Regions from separate parts of the Homo sapiens genome. Here all the other regions are linked to region 3. Evidence: promoter capture Hi-C in 16 types of primary human blood cells and fetal thymus (Javierre and others, 2016). All regions are on one chromosome and are shown on one strand. The core of a region is centred on a gene start or on the middle of the fragment in contact, and the rest is flanking DNA. Distances in the headings are between cores, read along the strand shown.

Evidence for each region. Contacts are between HindIII fragments. The CHiCAGO score rates a contact against its expected background, and 5 or more counts as called.
Region 1: a fragment that was not itself captured here is called in contact with the fragment with the promoter of ITGA2B in region 3 in 1 of 17 cell types (endothelial precursors); the score reaches 5.6 in endothelial precursors.
Region 2: a contact is called between a fragment that was not itself captured here and the fragment with the promoter of ITGA2B in region 3, in 1 of 17 cell types (erythroblasts). The highest score is 5.1, in erythroblasts.

The regions. Positions count from the first base shown.
Region 1 is chr17:44,658,131-44,662,600 of GRCh38, forward strand. It overlaps MEIOC (meiosis specific with coiled-coil domain), which reads left to right. Exons shown (of 8, transcript NM_001145080.3): 3 at 4,187-4,341. Among named protein-coding and RNA genes, the nearest start is that of MEIOC, 3.9 kb to the left of the region's middle. The HindIII fragment of the contact is 3,083 bases long and covers 965-4,047 here.
Region 2 is chr17:44,094,904-44,099,294 of GRCh38, forward strand. The region is part of intron 3 of HDAC5 (histone deacetylase 5); the gene reads right to left. Among named protein-coding and RNA genes, the nearest start is that of G6PC3, 26 kb to the left of the region's middle. RefSeq lists enhancers at 457-1,217, 3,318-3,612 and a silencer at 3,960-4,171. The HindIII fragment of the contact is 2,335 bases long and covers 389-2,723 here.
Region 3 is chr17:44,386,894-44,391,833 of GRCh38, forward strand. It overlaps ITGA2B (integrin subunit alpha 2b), which reads right to left and starts at 2,756. Exons shown (of 30, transcript NM_000419.5): 1 at 2,393-2,756. The coding sequence starts at 2,580. RefSeq lists an enhancer at 2,913-2,972. The HindIII fragment of the contact is 14,706 bases long and covers 1-3,203 here.

The sequences.
Region 1 (4,470 bases), core at 1,256-3,755, 270 kb after region 3:
CCACAGCGCCCAGCCCAGGAACAATTTTTTTTTTTTTTTTTTGAGACGGAGTCTTGCTCTGTCGCCCAGGCTGGAGTGCAGTGACGCAATCTCCGCTCACTGCAAGCTCCACCTCCCAGGTTCACGCCATTCTCCTGCCTCAGCCTCCCGAGTAGCTGGGACTACAGGCACCCGCCACCACGCCCGGCTAATTTTTTTGTATTTTTAGTAGATACGGGGTTTCACTGTGTTAGCCAGTATGGTCTCGATCTCCTGACCTCGTGATCCGCTCGCCTCAGCCTCCCAAAGTGCTGGGATTACAGGCGTGAGCCACCGCGCCCGGCTACAATCTTTTAAATACAGTGTTTGCAGAATACATACTTTGCTTTGAAAATAAGTTAAGGGCCGGGCGCCATGGCTCGTGCCTGTAATCCCAGCACTCTGGGGGGCTGAGGCGGGTGGATCACCTGAGTTCGGGAGTTCAAGACCAGCCTGGCCAACATGGCGAAACCCCATCTCTACTAAAAATACAAAAATCAGCCGGGTGTGGGGGCAGGCACCTGTAATCCCAGCTACTTGGGAGACTGAGGCAGGAGAATCTTAAACCAGGGAGGTGGAGGTTGCAGTGAGCCAAGATCATGCCACTGCACTCCAGCCTGGGTGACAGAGTGAGACTCCCTCTCAAAAAAAAAAAAAAAAGAAAAAAGAAAACAAATTGAAGAATAAGATTTTTCATTGATTCGTTTCCATCTTGTCCTTAGCATAACATAATTCCAGAAATGTAAGAAAATCCATTATTTAGTAAGATTAAAATATGTTTTTTTTCGTTCAGGCATTTATTGCAAGTTGGTACAAACATATTTTTGATAATTTAAAGGTGAAAATTTCACTTTACTCCTTTATTTTCTGGTTTTAACAATGTCTTAAATTATATGCTACCACTTACCTCACCAAGACATTTAGATTTATTAATCAAAGGAAATAAAGCTTGGGTAATGTAAGTAATTTTCATTTGAAATTATTTAACCAGGACATCAATGTTGATATTGTTGTACTTTGAATTATAACAATATCTAGAAATAAATTATTTTATTTAATCCACACTAAGAATCTTGTATATTATTATGCCACTGTACAGATTGAGAAACTGAGCCTCAGAGAGCTTGATTTGTGCCCTAAATGACAAAGCTCAAGTGGAACCCAGACCATAGTTCCACTGCTCTCTGCAGTGTTTACATCCGGACTAAAATTTATTTGGATTTAATTTCAGTTCACTGTTTTAAGTATGTTAAGGATATAAGTGATACATTTTAAAGTTAATCCAGTTAATATGCCCACTCAAATATTTGCATATTTCCTGGCCTCTGTTAACGAAAGGGATGCAGATATTTCAAGTATGATTGTTTGAATCCACCACATTACTTTAGTTGTTTTAACCCAAGAATACAAAAGTTAAGTCAGTCCTTTAAAAGGATTTTATTTGTAATATTCAAAATGTATTTTAAAATGTAAAATGTACTTGAAAGAATACTCCCAAAATATTTTCAATTTCCAATACTGTTTATTCATTTGACATTACATAATCTGAAAATGTTCCTTTTGTTTAAGCAACTATTTCAAAAAGATGAACAATTATTTATGTCACTTTGGATACTTCACACATAAGAGTGGGCCTATGATGATAACTTTAGAACTCAAAGGATAAAATTAGGAAAGAAAGATAAAAAGCCTTTGTAAAAGTTGCTGCTAACCAACAAATTCTGGAAAGGTAGTTTTTAGTTTTAGCTCTCAGCAAAATCCCTTCTGTGTTTCCATTTCCTCAACTTGAGAATAGTCATAATATAAACTATAAACAGAAAAATTATAATGTGTGGGTTTTAAATAGAATCATAACCAGAACTTAAACAAATGGTTGTAAAATATTTTGAGATTCTTGAAGATGGATGATTGGAAGGTATTTCTTAATGTTCACATTTTGTTGGTATCATATAACGTTGTATAGTTTAAATGTTTTTCAGTGATCATATCTATTAGGAACAAAAATTTAGAAATATTAACAGAATAAAAGCAATTAGAAAATACTTTTAGCCAGAATTATATCTTTTCCTTTTTTATTTTATTTTATTTTATTTATTTATTTATTTATTTTGAGATGGAGTCTCCCTCTGTTGCCCAGGCTGGAGTGCAATAGCTCAATCTTGGCTCACTGCAACCTCCGCCTTCTGGGTTCAAGTGACTCTCCTGCCTCAGCCTCTTGAGTAGCTGGGATTGCAGGCACCTGCCACCACACCTGGCTAATTTTTGTATTTTTGTCGAAACGGGCTTTCGCCATGTTGATCAGGAGTTAAACTCCTGACCTCAGGTGATCCGCCCACCTAGGCCTCCCAAAAGTGCTGGGATTACAGGTGTGAGCCACTGCGCCCGGCCAGAATTACATCTCTTCTGTATTTATAAGAAAATACTATTTTCATTGTGTTTATGTCTGGGTATTTATAGTTATTGCATCTCAGGTTTTAATAGTTACTTATCTGGAGAGTTAAAAATTTTGAATTTATACTTTCAGTCTTCTTTAAGGAAGCATTTTCTAGAATAAACAATGTATAAATTAGCTTAATCTTTTTTTGTTTGTTAAATTCACTTTCCCTACATGGTCCCTTTTGGAAGGAGGCAGGGTTTAAATCATTAAAATCTTAAAACCCAAGGCCCGGCAAAGTGACTCACACCTGTAATCCCAGCACTTTGGGAGGCCAAGGCAGGAGGATCGCTTGAGGCCAGGAGTTTAAGACCAGCCTGGGCAACACAGTGAGACCCCATTTCTATTTAAAAAAAAAAAAAGAAACTTAACACCCAAAGTTTTTGTTTACTCAGGTTCATTACAGAAGCATTCACCGAGGCTGGGTGCAATGGCTCACGCCTGTAATCCCAACACTTTGGAAGGCCCAAGGCGGGCAGATCACTTGAGGTCAGGATTTGAGACCAGCCTGACCAACATGGTGAAACCCTAAAACTCTCTACTGAAAATACAAAAATTAGCCAGGCATGGTGGCAGGTGCCTGTAATCCCAGTTACTTGGGAGGCTAAGGCAGGAGAATCGCTTCAACCCGGGAGGCAGAGGTTGCAGTGAGCCGAGATCTCGCCACTCTACTCCAGTCTGGGCAACAGAGCCAGACTCTTGTCTCAAAAAAAAAAAAAAAAAAAAAAAAAGATACTGTATAAAATGTCCTCAAATAGGAGGAAAAAGACCTTCAGTTTTGGTTTTAGATTTGTTACATATTGGCTGAGTGACTTGCAGCCTCAGTTTCCTTGTTTTTAAAGTAGAGATAATACTCATGTCACAAGGTTTACTGGATATGATAATATATGTGAAATTTATTTGAATAGTGTAAAATTCCATATAAATATACATTAACTTTTTTCAGAGATTGGGGACATTAAGACTGAAATTTATTTATTTATTTTTGAGACAGAGTCTCGCTCTGTCGCCCAGGATGGAGTACAGTGGTGCTATCTTGGCTCACTGCAAGCTCCGCCTCCCGGGTTCATGCCATTCTCCTGCCTCAGCCTCCCAAGTAGCTGGGACTACAGGCGCCCATCACCACCACAGCTGGCTAATTTTTTGTATTTTTAGTAGAGACAGGGTTTAGCCAGGATGGTCTCATCTCCTGACCTCGTGATCCGCCCACCTCGGCCTCCCAAAGTGCTGGGATTACAGGCTTGAGCCACCGCGCCTGGCCCCAAGACTGAATTTTATATATAATGTATTAAAAATAACATTGCTAGTATCCACATAATGCTTATCTATTCAAAAAATTACAAAAAAACTACAATAATTATAGGTATTTTATACCACAGACCAGCAACAAGGAGCCAGAGCTGCCCGATACCTGTTTTGTAAATAAAGTTTTATTGCAATGCAGCCAAACCCATTTGTTTATTGTCTATGGTTGATTTAGTGCTGCAGCATTAGAGTTGAAGAGTTTTGACAGCAACCTTAATGGCCAGCTAAGCCTAAAATATTTACTATTTGGCCTTTTGCAGAACAAGTTTGCCAATCCCTGGTATAAAGCAAGCTTAAGTCACTAAGTCTGCATTTGAATGTAATTCTCCCAACTCTTACATCTGTGTTATTTCCGCTTTCTTATTTTTCTCATATTCTACAACAAATGAAGTTTTGATGTGTCTGATAAACATTTCTTAAAACTTTCAGAGTGAAGACAATGTAGACCTAAGGCAGACCTATACTCCATTTTCTTCAACAGAATATTCAAGTTCTGTAGATTCTTCACTTTTCTGTGCACCATGGTCTACTTATGGAGATGACATTAAACAACCTTCTAATTCTCAGATCAGTATAAAGAACAGGTAAATTAATTCATTTCTCAAGGTAATTGAGGTATTTTTAAATTTAATTACATAGGAACTGAGGTTATTTGCTCTCTGTTCCCTACATTATCATTTTACTATTGTGGCATTTTGTGTTTTTCAAACTTT
Region 2 (4,391 bases), core at 306-2,805, 290 kb before region 3:
TCCCACCTCAGCTTCCCAAGTAGCAGGGATTACAGGAGCATGCCAATGCACCAGGCTAATTTTTAATTTTTTAGTAGAGACAGGGTCTCACTATGTTGCCCAGGCTGAATTAAACTCCTAGGCTCAAGCGATCCTCCCACCTCAGCCTCCCAAAGTGCTGGGATTATAGGCGTGAGCCACTGCCCAGCCTTCAACACATAATATTATCATTGATAGTCAACATCTCTGGGCATTTTACAATGACTCATTTAAATATCACAGTTACCCTATGACTTAGATGCTATTATTACCCCATTTTACTGATGAGGAAACTGAGGTTTAGAGAAGTTTAAGTAGCAACCAGACACAGCTAGGTGATCCAATAACTAGAATATGAGTCCAAATCCTAAGCTTTTAACCACTGTGCCCGCTCCCATTTCTCAACACCGTGCCCCATGCAAAGCCTCATACTAGAAGAGAAACTGAGGCACAGAGGTTGGTTCTAGGACTGACAGTGCCCTTGGTAACCCCAGGAGAGGCTGGTGGAGACCTTCTGGATATCTCTACCCTCTGTCCCCTTCTGGGGCCTCATCCCTATCTGGGGCAGACTGGGCAGGAGGGAGAGGCTGTGGGAATGGGGGTGGGGTGGGAACAGGAGGCCTCGGGGAAAGGGGGTGCAGGGCTGCACCAAGCCAGGGACAGGAGGGGGCTGGGAGTCAAGACTCGCTTCCTTTGCTGGATTATCTCCTTTCAACAGTTTTATTGTAATTACCCTGAAAATGCCGCTATATATAGAGTGAGCCAAACAGCAGCTGTGCCTGGGGGGAGGGGGAATAAGAGGATGGGCGGGCAGGCAGCAGGGAGGAGGTGGGAGGAGGAGACAGGAAAGGAAAGGGAATCAGACAGGAAGAAGGGTAACAGCAGGGGGAGGGCAGGAGCTTCGGCAGAGATCTCAGAACTCTGGTCTTACGGAGAACCGGCTGGGGAGAGGAAGGCTGCTGGGGAGGGGAAGGCAGTGGAGGGCCTGCTGGGTTCCAAGACCTTGGGTCCAGTCCCCACATGGACAATGGGCCGAGTGGCTCAGGGAGTGCACGAAGTTCCAATGGGCTTATGGGAGGGCTAGGTCTCCACTTCTTTGTACCTACACACAGTTCTCAGGTCACTGCATGTCACTCCTCACCACTGCCCTGTGGTTGCCAGGACAACTGGGCAAACACCACACCAGCAGGGAGCCCCAAGCCCAGCCCAAGCCCCACAAAGTCTCCAGCCAGGAAGGGGAAGGCAGGATACCACTGCCTGGGAAGGCGGAAGTGAGAGAGGCAGGCCAACCCATTCCTGTTTCTCTTCTACTTCTTTCTCCAAAGAAAGCCCTCACTCTCCTCGCTACAGCCCAGGGAGGTCACGAGGGGCTGGGAAGACTCCTGTGGCAAAGTGGCCCACTCCAGCCCAGGCCTGAGAAAAAAGGACCCCGAAATCCTTCTGGCTACCAGTATCTTCTGCCTTCATGAGCTGGCCTCTCTCCAGACCACCCCCCAGCATTAAGAGGCGAGAGAGGGAAAAAAAAAACAAAAAACAAGTTTTGGTTTTTTTTTGTTTTTTTTTTTTTTGGAGATGGAGTTTTGCTCTTGTCATCCAGGCTGGAGTGCAGTGGCACAATCTCGGCTCACTGCAACCTCTGCCTCCTGGGTTCAAGCAGTTTTCCTGCCTCAGCCCCGCAAGTAGCTGGGATTACAGGCACCCGCCACCACGCTCAGCTAATTTTTTTGTATTTTTAGTAGACACAAGGTTTCACCATGTTGGCCAGGCTGGTCTCAAACTCTTGACCTCAGGTGATCCGCTCGCCTCGGCCTCCCAAAGGGCTGGGATTACAGGCATGAGCCACTGCCCCTGGCCTTTTTTTTAGATGGAGTCTCACTGCAACCTCCGCCTCCTGGGTTCAAGCAATTCTCCTGCCTCAGCCTCCCAAGCAGCTGGGATTACAGGCGCCCACCACCAGGCCTAGCTAATTTTTGTATTTTTAGTAGAAACGGGGTTTCACCATGTAGGTCAGGCTGGTCTCGAACTCCTGACCTCAGGTGATCCACCCGCCTCGGCCTCCCAAAGTGCTGGGATTACAGGCATGAGTGACCACACCCAGCCGAACAATTTTTAAAGAGAAGAGAGGGAGGTGGGAGGTAGGAGGTGGCAAAGGGTGGGCTAAGAGAGGCCCCCACACCTGTTTAGATGGGTCTGGATCTCTCCAGAGAACCTAGCACTGAATGGGTGTCACCAAGGCAGGAGCAAGGCCTGCTGGAGGCCGAGGCCAAGGCCATGCCACCCACATGCCTGGAGTATGGCCTCTGGAACCCCCTGCAGGCAGGGTGGGGTGGGAGAAGGTAAAAGCTCAGCATGATGTAGCAGTCCCCACCAGCCTCTTCTCCCCCAGGCATGGTTGGGAACATTCCTCTGTGGTTTTCCCGCCAGCCATACTGACGACTCTGTGGCCACAAGGCCAGAGCCACATGTGCAGAAGTGGCCAGATGTGGCCAGAGGGTGGGGTTACACATACTCATCTTCATTCCCAACCCATGTCCTGCCCCAGCACCAGGAGAAAGGGTCCTTGGAAACTGCAGAAGGCCTTCCTGGAGGTAACTAGCCACAGCCCACGATGGTGGCAAGGAAATGGCAGCCAGCTCAGGTCTCCCCAGCCCGTGAAGTGCTCAGCAAGGCCCTGAGCTGGCCGGAGGGTTATCTGTTCTTAGTCAAGCTTGGCTTGGCCCGTGGCACTCTGATCACTCAGCCAAGCAATGGACAGCCGTCAACCTGCTGCTCCCGGCAATGCCGGGGTTGTAGGAGCCAGATTCCAGCCTGCCTGCCCAGGGAAGGGCAGAGGTCCAAGCACTCCTGGCTCCCAGCAGATAACCCTGCCTAGGGCTGGAACTGTCGCCAGCAGTACTGGCTTCCCTTGCAGGAGCCCTGCAGAGAGCACATGGGCTCAGGCAAGGGGAATCTCCCACCAGCCTGTCACTGCCACTGCAGCAGCAGAGATGTTAGGCCCGGAGCTGCAGCGGGAACCACAGCCCTATTGGTATGCAGGTGGCAGGGCAGGCAGAGGGCTCTGCCATGCAGCCTCGTTCCCATGCAAACAGGAAGCACAGGCGACTCCAGAATATTAATTTGCAGGACCTGCAGGGACTGGGTGACATGCAGCACCCCAGGGGTTTGCCAGGTAGCAACCTGCTCCACCCAAAGTGGAAGGGGCCATGGCTACTCTGCCTGAGTCAGGGAAAGGAGGGGCATGGAGCCCCATGAATAGAGTCTGCCCAGGCACAGACCCTGGAGCCTGGCGGGCCTTGCACTCTCTCAAGGATCTGTGCCCTCTGCCAGCCTGGCATGAGCAGAGCAGGTGGCAGCAGTTGCCATCAGCACCAAGCACCTGGAAGGGGAAGTGGTTGTGTCATGATAGGAAGAGGCTCTTGGCCGCCTCCTGGTGGACTAGGAAGGCTGGGGAACCTCTGGGAAAAGAAGAGGATAGACAGGCCCGGGGCGTGGTGGCCAGTTACCCAGGGCTGTCTCTTAAAAAAAAGGGAACCTGGGCCAGGCGCAGTGGCTCATGCCTGTAATCCCAGCAGTTTGGGAGGCTGAGGCGGGCGGATCACCTGAGGTCAGGAGTTCAAGACCAGCCTGGCCAACATGGCAAAACCCCATCTCTACTAAAAAATACAAAGATTAGTTGGGTGCGGTAGCGGGCACTTGTAATCCCAGCTACTCAGGAGGCTGAGGCAGGGAGAGTTGTTTGAACCCAGGAGGCAGAGGTTGCAATGAGCCCAGATCATGCCACTGCACTCTAGCCTGGGTGATAGAGCGAGACCCTATCTAAAAAAAAAAAAAAAAAGAGGGTAGACGAAGGGGCACTGTTCCCTAAGAGGACAGGCCAAGAGCTCTGGCTAGCAAAGAGCCCCACTGAAAGGCCAGGGAGAGCCAAGCGTTGGTGGCTATAATCCCAGCATTTTGGGAGTCCGAGGCGGGAGGATCACTTGAGGTCAGGAGTTCAAGACCAGCCTGGCCAACATGGAAAAACCCCATCTTTACTAAAATTACAAAATTAGCCGGGTGTGGTGATGCATGCCTGTAATCCCAGCTACTCGGGAGGCTGAGGCAGGAAAATCACTTGAACCCGGGAGGCAGAGGTTGCAGTGAGCCAAGATCGCGACATTGCACTCCAGCCTGGGCAACAAGAGTGAAACTCTGTCTCAAAAAGAAAAAAATGAAAAGAAAAGAAAGCCAGGGAAAGGTTCACAGGGGAGGACAAGGACCTGGGTCCTTCCCTCACCTGCCAGGACTTCACTCTGATGGGAATCGAGAGGCCAGTAGAGCCACCTCCTGCAGAGGTCAGAGGCAAGGCTCTGGGGGAAAGCCTTGGGCCCCCCGCA
Region 3 (4,940 bases), core at 1,506-4,005:
CAATCCTCTCCCCTCAGCCACCCTAGTAGCTGGGACTGCGGGTGTGCAACACCATGCCTGGCTAATTAAAAAAAATTTTTTTATAGGCTGGGCATGGTGGCTCACACCTGTAATCCCAGCACTTTGGGAGGCCAAGGGATTACAGGCGTGAGCCTCTGTGTCTGGCCCATAATATTTTTTTAGCCTGCAGGATGTTTAAGTAGTGCCAATGGGATCACTACTTATAGGAGGGGAAATCAGCAGGAGTGGGCACAGGAAGGAGTTGAGCTGATTCAGGCCCAATGACAGCATTCGCCAACACCCCACGAGCTTTGGAACTAGAATGACCCTTCAAAATTGTCAGAGTTGGCCGGGTGTGGTGGCTCACGCCTGTAATCCCAGTACTTTGGGAGGCCGAGGCAGGCTGATCACCTGAGGTCAGGAGTTTGAGACCAGCCTGGCCAACATAGTGAAACCCTGTCTCTACTAAAAATACAAAAATTAGCCGGGCATGGTGGCATGCACCTGTAATCCCAGCTACTCGGGAGGCTGAGACAGGAGAATCGTTTGAACCCAGGAGGCAGAGGTTGCAGTGAGCCGAGATCACCCCATTGCACTCCAGCCTGGGCAACGAGAGCGAAACTCCATCTCAAAAAAAAAGAAGAAAAAAAGTCTGGGCATGGTGGCTGAAGCCTGTAATCCCAGCACTTTGGGAGGCCAAGGCGGGTGGATCACCTGAAGTTGGGAGTTCGAGACCACCCTGACCAACATGGAGAAACCTCGTCTCTACTAAAAATACAAAATTAGCCGGGTGTGGTGGCACATGCCTGTAATCCCAGCTACGCGGGAGGCTGTGGCAGGAGAATCGCTTGAACCCGGGAGGCAGAAGTTGCGGTGAGCCAGTGATTGTGCCATTGCACTCCAGCCTGGGCAACAAGAGCGAAACCCCATCTCAAAAAAAAAAAAAAAAAAAAAAAAAAAAGAAGAAGAAGAAAAAAAGAATTGTCAGAGTTGATGAAAGAGGGCTGGACCCTTATCAAATGCCTCCCCCACACCTGCCTCCACTCTCCCCACTCACCCACTTCTCATTGATCAGACACTGGATGTGGGCCATCTTGGGAGGGGACTTGGAGTGAACTGGCTCTCTTCAGCAGAGGAAATCCCCTAAGTGGCTGACACTTGAAGGCTATCTGCCATTGCCACCCATTGCCACTCCCTGAAGCTGGTGGGCACAGTGTCTCTCACAATAGTAGCTCAGGGTACACGCTATGAAGAGGAGGAGCCAAGACTCTAATCTTGGCACTCTTGATTCTGAAGCCTGATCAATACTAATCATTAATGACCTATTGCTTCTTTTCAAATATTTATAATGTTGATGGAGATGAGGGAAATGGAACAGAAATGCAAGGTGCGGGAGGGTAGACAACTTTAGTTCTGCAAATCAATTTAGGACATGTGCTCCTCTCCACATTTCCTTTCTTTTTTTTTTTTTTTTTTTTTTGAGACAGAGTTTCGCTCTCGTTGCCCAGGCTGGAGTGCAATGGCATGATCTCGGCTCACCACAACCTCTGCCTCTCAGGTTCAAACGATTCTCCTGCCTCAGCCTCCCGAGTAGCTGGGATTACAAGCATGCGGCACCACGCCCGGCTAATTTTTTTTTTTTTGAGACGGAGTGTCACTCTGTCACCCAGGCTGGAGTGCAGTGGCATGATCTCAGCTCACTGCAACCTCCACCTCCCGGGTTCAAGTGATTCTCCTACCTCAGCCTCCCGAGTAGCTGGGACTACAGGAGTGTGCCACCACGCTCAGCTAATTTTTGTATTTTTAATAGAGACAGGGTTTCACCATATTGGCCAGGCTGGTCTTGAACTCCTGACCTCATGATCTGCCCACCTCTGCCTCCCAAAGTGCTGGGATTGCAGGTGTGAGCCACTGTGCCTGGTCTCTTTTTTTTTTTTTTTTTTGTATTTTTAGTAGAGACGGGGTTTCTCCATGTTGGTCAGGCTGGTCTCGAATTCTCGACCTCAGGTGATCTGCCCGCCTCGGCCTCCCAAAGTGCTGGGATTACAGGCATGAGCCACCGCGCCCGGCCTCCTCTCTGCATTTCAAGGTGTTGAGGGTGGAGTGGTTCATACAACTGACCCTTGGGGAAAAAATAAAGCATCAACTCTTGTCTTCCCTTTGTTCTTGCTGTAGTTTTCAGTGCCCATCAGCCCACATGTGCCCTGCCCTTATACCTTCACCTGAGCCAGTCCCCTGGACCCCAACATTCTTGACAAGAAATCAACCTGAATAGGCCCCACAAGTCACCTTGCTCAACTGCTATCGCAAATGGGAAACTCGAAGCCCCCAGAAGCAGTGATGGGGAGGGGTCCTGCTCTCTCCCAATACCCCAACTTCCCTTACGGCTCACCTCCCATGGCTGTCCTTGTGGAAGTCCAGTGAAAATCCAAACTGGCTGCCATTGGGGCCTGCATAGAAGGTGAGCTGCACTGGGTCCAGGTTCAAGGCCCAGGCTGGAGGGGCAGCACAAGGTCCCAAGAGCAGCAGCACCCACTCCAGAAGCCAGAGGGCTTGCAGTGGACACAAAGCTCTGGCCATCTTCCTTCTTCCACAACCTCCCAGGCAGGAATGGGCCAGCTCCTCCTCCTTCCCTTCAGATTCCTCCACAGGAAGTCTTTTCTTATCAAACTGGAACCCCAAGTAACTTGCTGAGCAACGGGCAGAGCAAAGGGCTATAGCCCCTGGACTCATGGTGGCTAGAATTGCCAGGAAGTGGGTGAGGCCACCCAGAGGGTGGATGCTCATGGCTGAAAGCCATGACTCCTCCCCTTTCCTGAGAATAGTTTATTACCATGTCCTATTGGTTCTGCCTATCAATGATGTCTCTTGAATCTTTACCCCATCTCTACTACCACCGTGCTAGTCCAAGCCACCATCACTTTCTGCTTGGGATAGCGTGATTGTGAACTGGTCCATACTTGTCTACTCTAGCCTACAGTTCTAATCTCCTCCCTTCCCCCATCTGGCTGTACAGCTGTGGTGCTTTGTGACTTGGCCACAGGTCGGGGAAGGAGAAGGAAGCTGCTGCCCCCGATAAAACCTGAGGCTTCTGTATCTTTTTGGATATGGCATTTACCCACTTCCTCCTTCTAGGACCTTGGGCGGCCTCAACCAGCCATATTGGTGCAGCAGCTTCCTCACTCCTCCTCCGTCTTGAGCCAAGCTTTAGTGTGGCCACAGCAGTGCAGTCAGTGCTGGGGACAGGGTGGTGAATGGACCTTGGTCTAGGTGGCAAGGAGATTGGGGATAAAGTGGAGTTATTCCAGGGAATTTTGACTCACAGTTTCTGAGATTATGCATTAGCTGTTCAGTTGAAGGTAGGCCCTCAATCCTTTTTGGGTGATGGAGCTCTTTAACCATTAAGACTTGATTCTGGTTGGGGGCTTTGCCTAGGGGAGCCTTCCCTGACTCCTCAGGCTGGCCGCGTGGGCTAACACACGTAGGCACAGCATTGAGCACACTGTTTACTCTTGGTCCGTTCACAGGATTGTGTAAATGAGTCCCTTGGGAGCAAGGCTCCTTGCTACAGCCCTAGAGACTACCCAAGAGTCCAATGTGTAGTACGTGTATTGCTGAAAGACTGGATGGAAACACACACTAAGGATGGAAGATGCAAACATAGGGTGACAAAGTGAAGGGATGAGTTTTGAGCAGAAAGGCAAAGTCATTTTCTCTCGGTAAGCGGAAGAGGAGGAGTGCCAAGTCTTACTGGCACTCATGCCTTCCCAAAAAAGCAGGTTCTCAGGAAGATTTAAGAGGTCCGCTAGGGGTAACCATAGCCACATTTTCCTTTTGATTTCTATTTTCTGATCAAACTTAACCATTGCCGTATCCTGCTCAACCACCCTGTACCATTTTGAAGTCCCCTCGTAATTTACTACCTCAGCCTAGAGTTAAGAATCTTATCCTTTATAGGACAGGAAGCTAAAAGCCTGAACTTTGGTCTGGGCCTTCTTCATTGCTGAGTTCCCAGTGTCAAGTACATGGGAGGCGTGTAATTAATGTATTTGCTTGAACGAATACTTAACCCAGTCCTCTACTTACCTTCTATCCTCCCACTGTCCTCAGGTGAGTGATTGCTGTATTACTGGTGTATTCTGTGAGGCCAAATATGAACTTACATTTCACTCAAGTTTTCAATAAGTATTTACTCTGTTCAAGGCACTGTGTTGATAAAGGATACAAAGATAACCATTAGGCCAGGTATAGTGGCTCATGCCTGTAATCCCAGCACTTTGGGAGGCTGAGGCAGGAGGATGGCTTGAGCTCAGGCATTTAAGACCAGCCTAGGCAATACAGTGAGACCTCGTCTCTATTTTAAAATTATAAAAAATAAAATATTTTAAAAACTCCAAAGATAGCCATCAAGGAGACTTAACAAACAGCCCAGAAAGAGTTAAGACATGAACACACATAACTGCAGCAGAGAGACAGTCAAGCATGCCTTGAAAAATACACAGATTATCAAAGTCGTATATCATTGTTACTCATAACAACCCTAGGAAATAAGTACTATTATGCCCATTTTATAAACACAAAACTGTGGCACAAGAGTTTTAGGTAAATTGCCCATGTTTACGCAGCCAACAGATGGCAAAACTAAGATTCAAACATGGGTTGCACTTGAACTCATGTTCAAGTTGCCTTTTGTCAGAGAATGAAAGGGTTTTTAGGCATAGAGAATACATGAGAGCAGCAAAGGAACACAGAGGTAGGGAAGGACAAGTAGTTGACTCAGCATAGCAGAATGCTTAAAGGGTTGGACTGAGGCGCAAGGGGGTAAAGCTTGGGGATTCAAATTACTGGAGGTCCTTGAATGCCATATTAAGGAATCTGAACTTTAATCCATGGGGGATGGAAAATCATAAAGATTTTAGCCGGGCATGGTGGCTCATGCC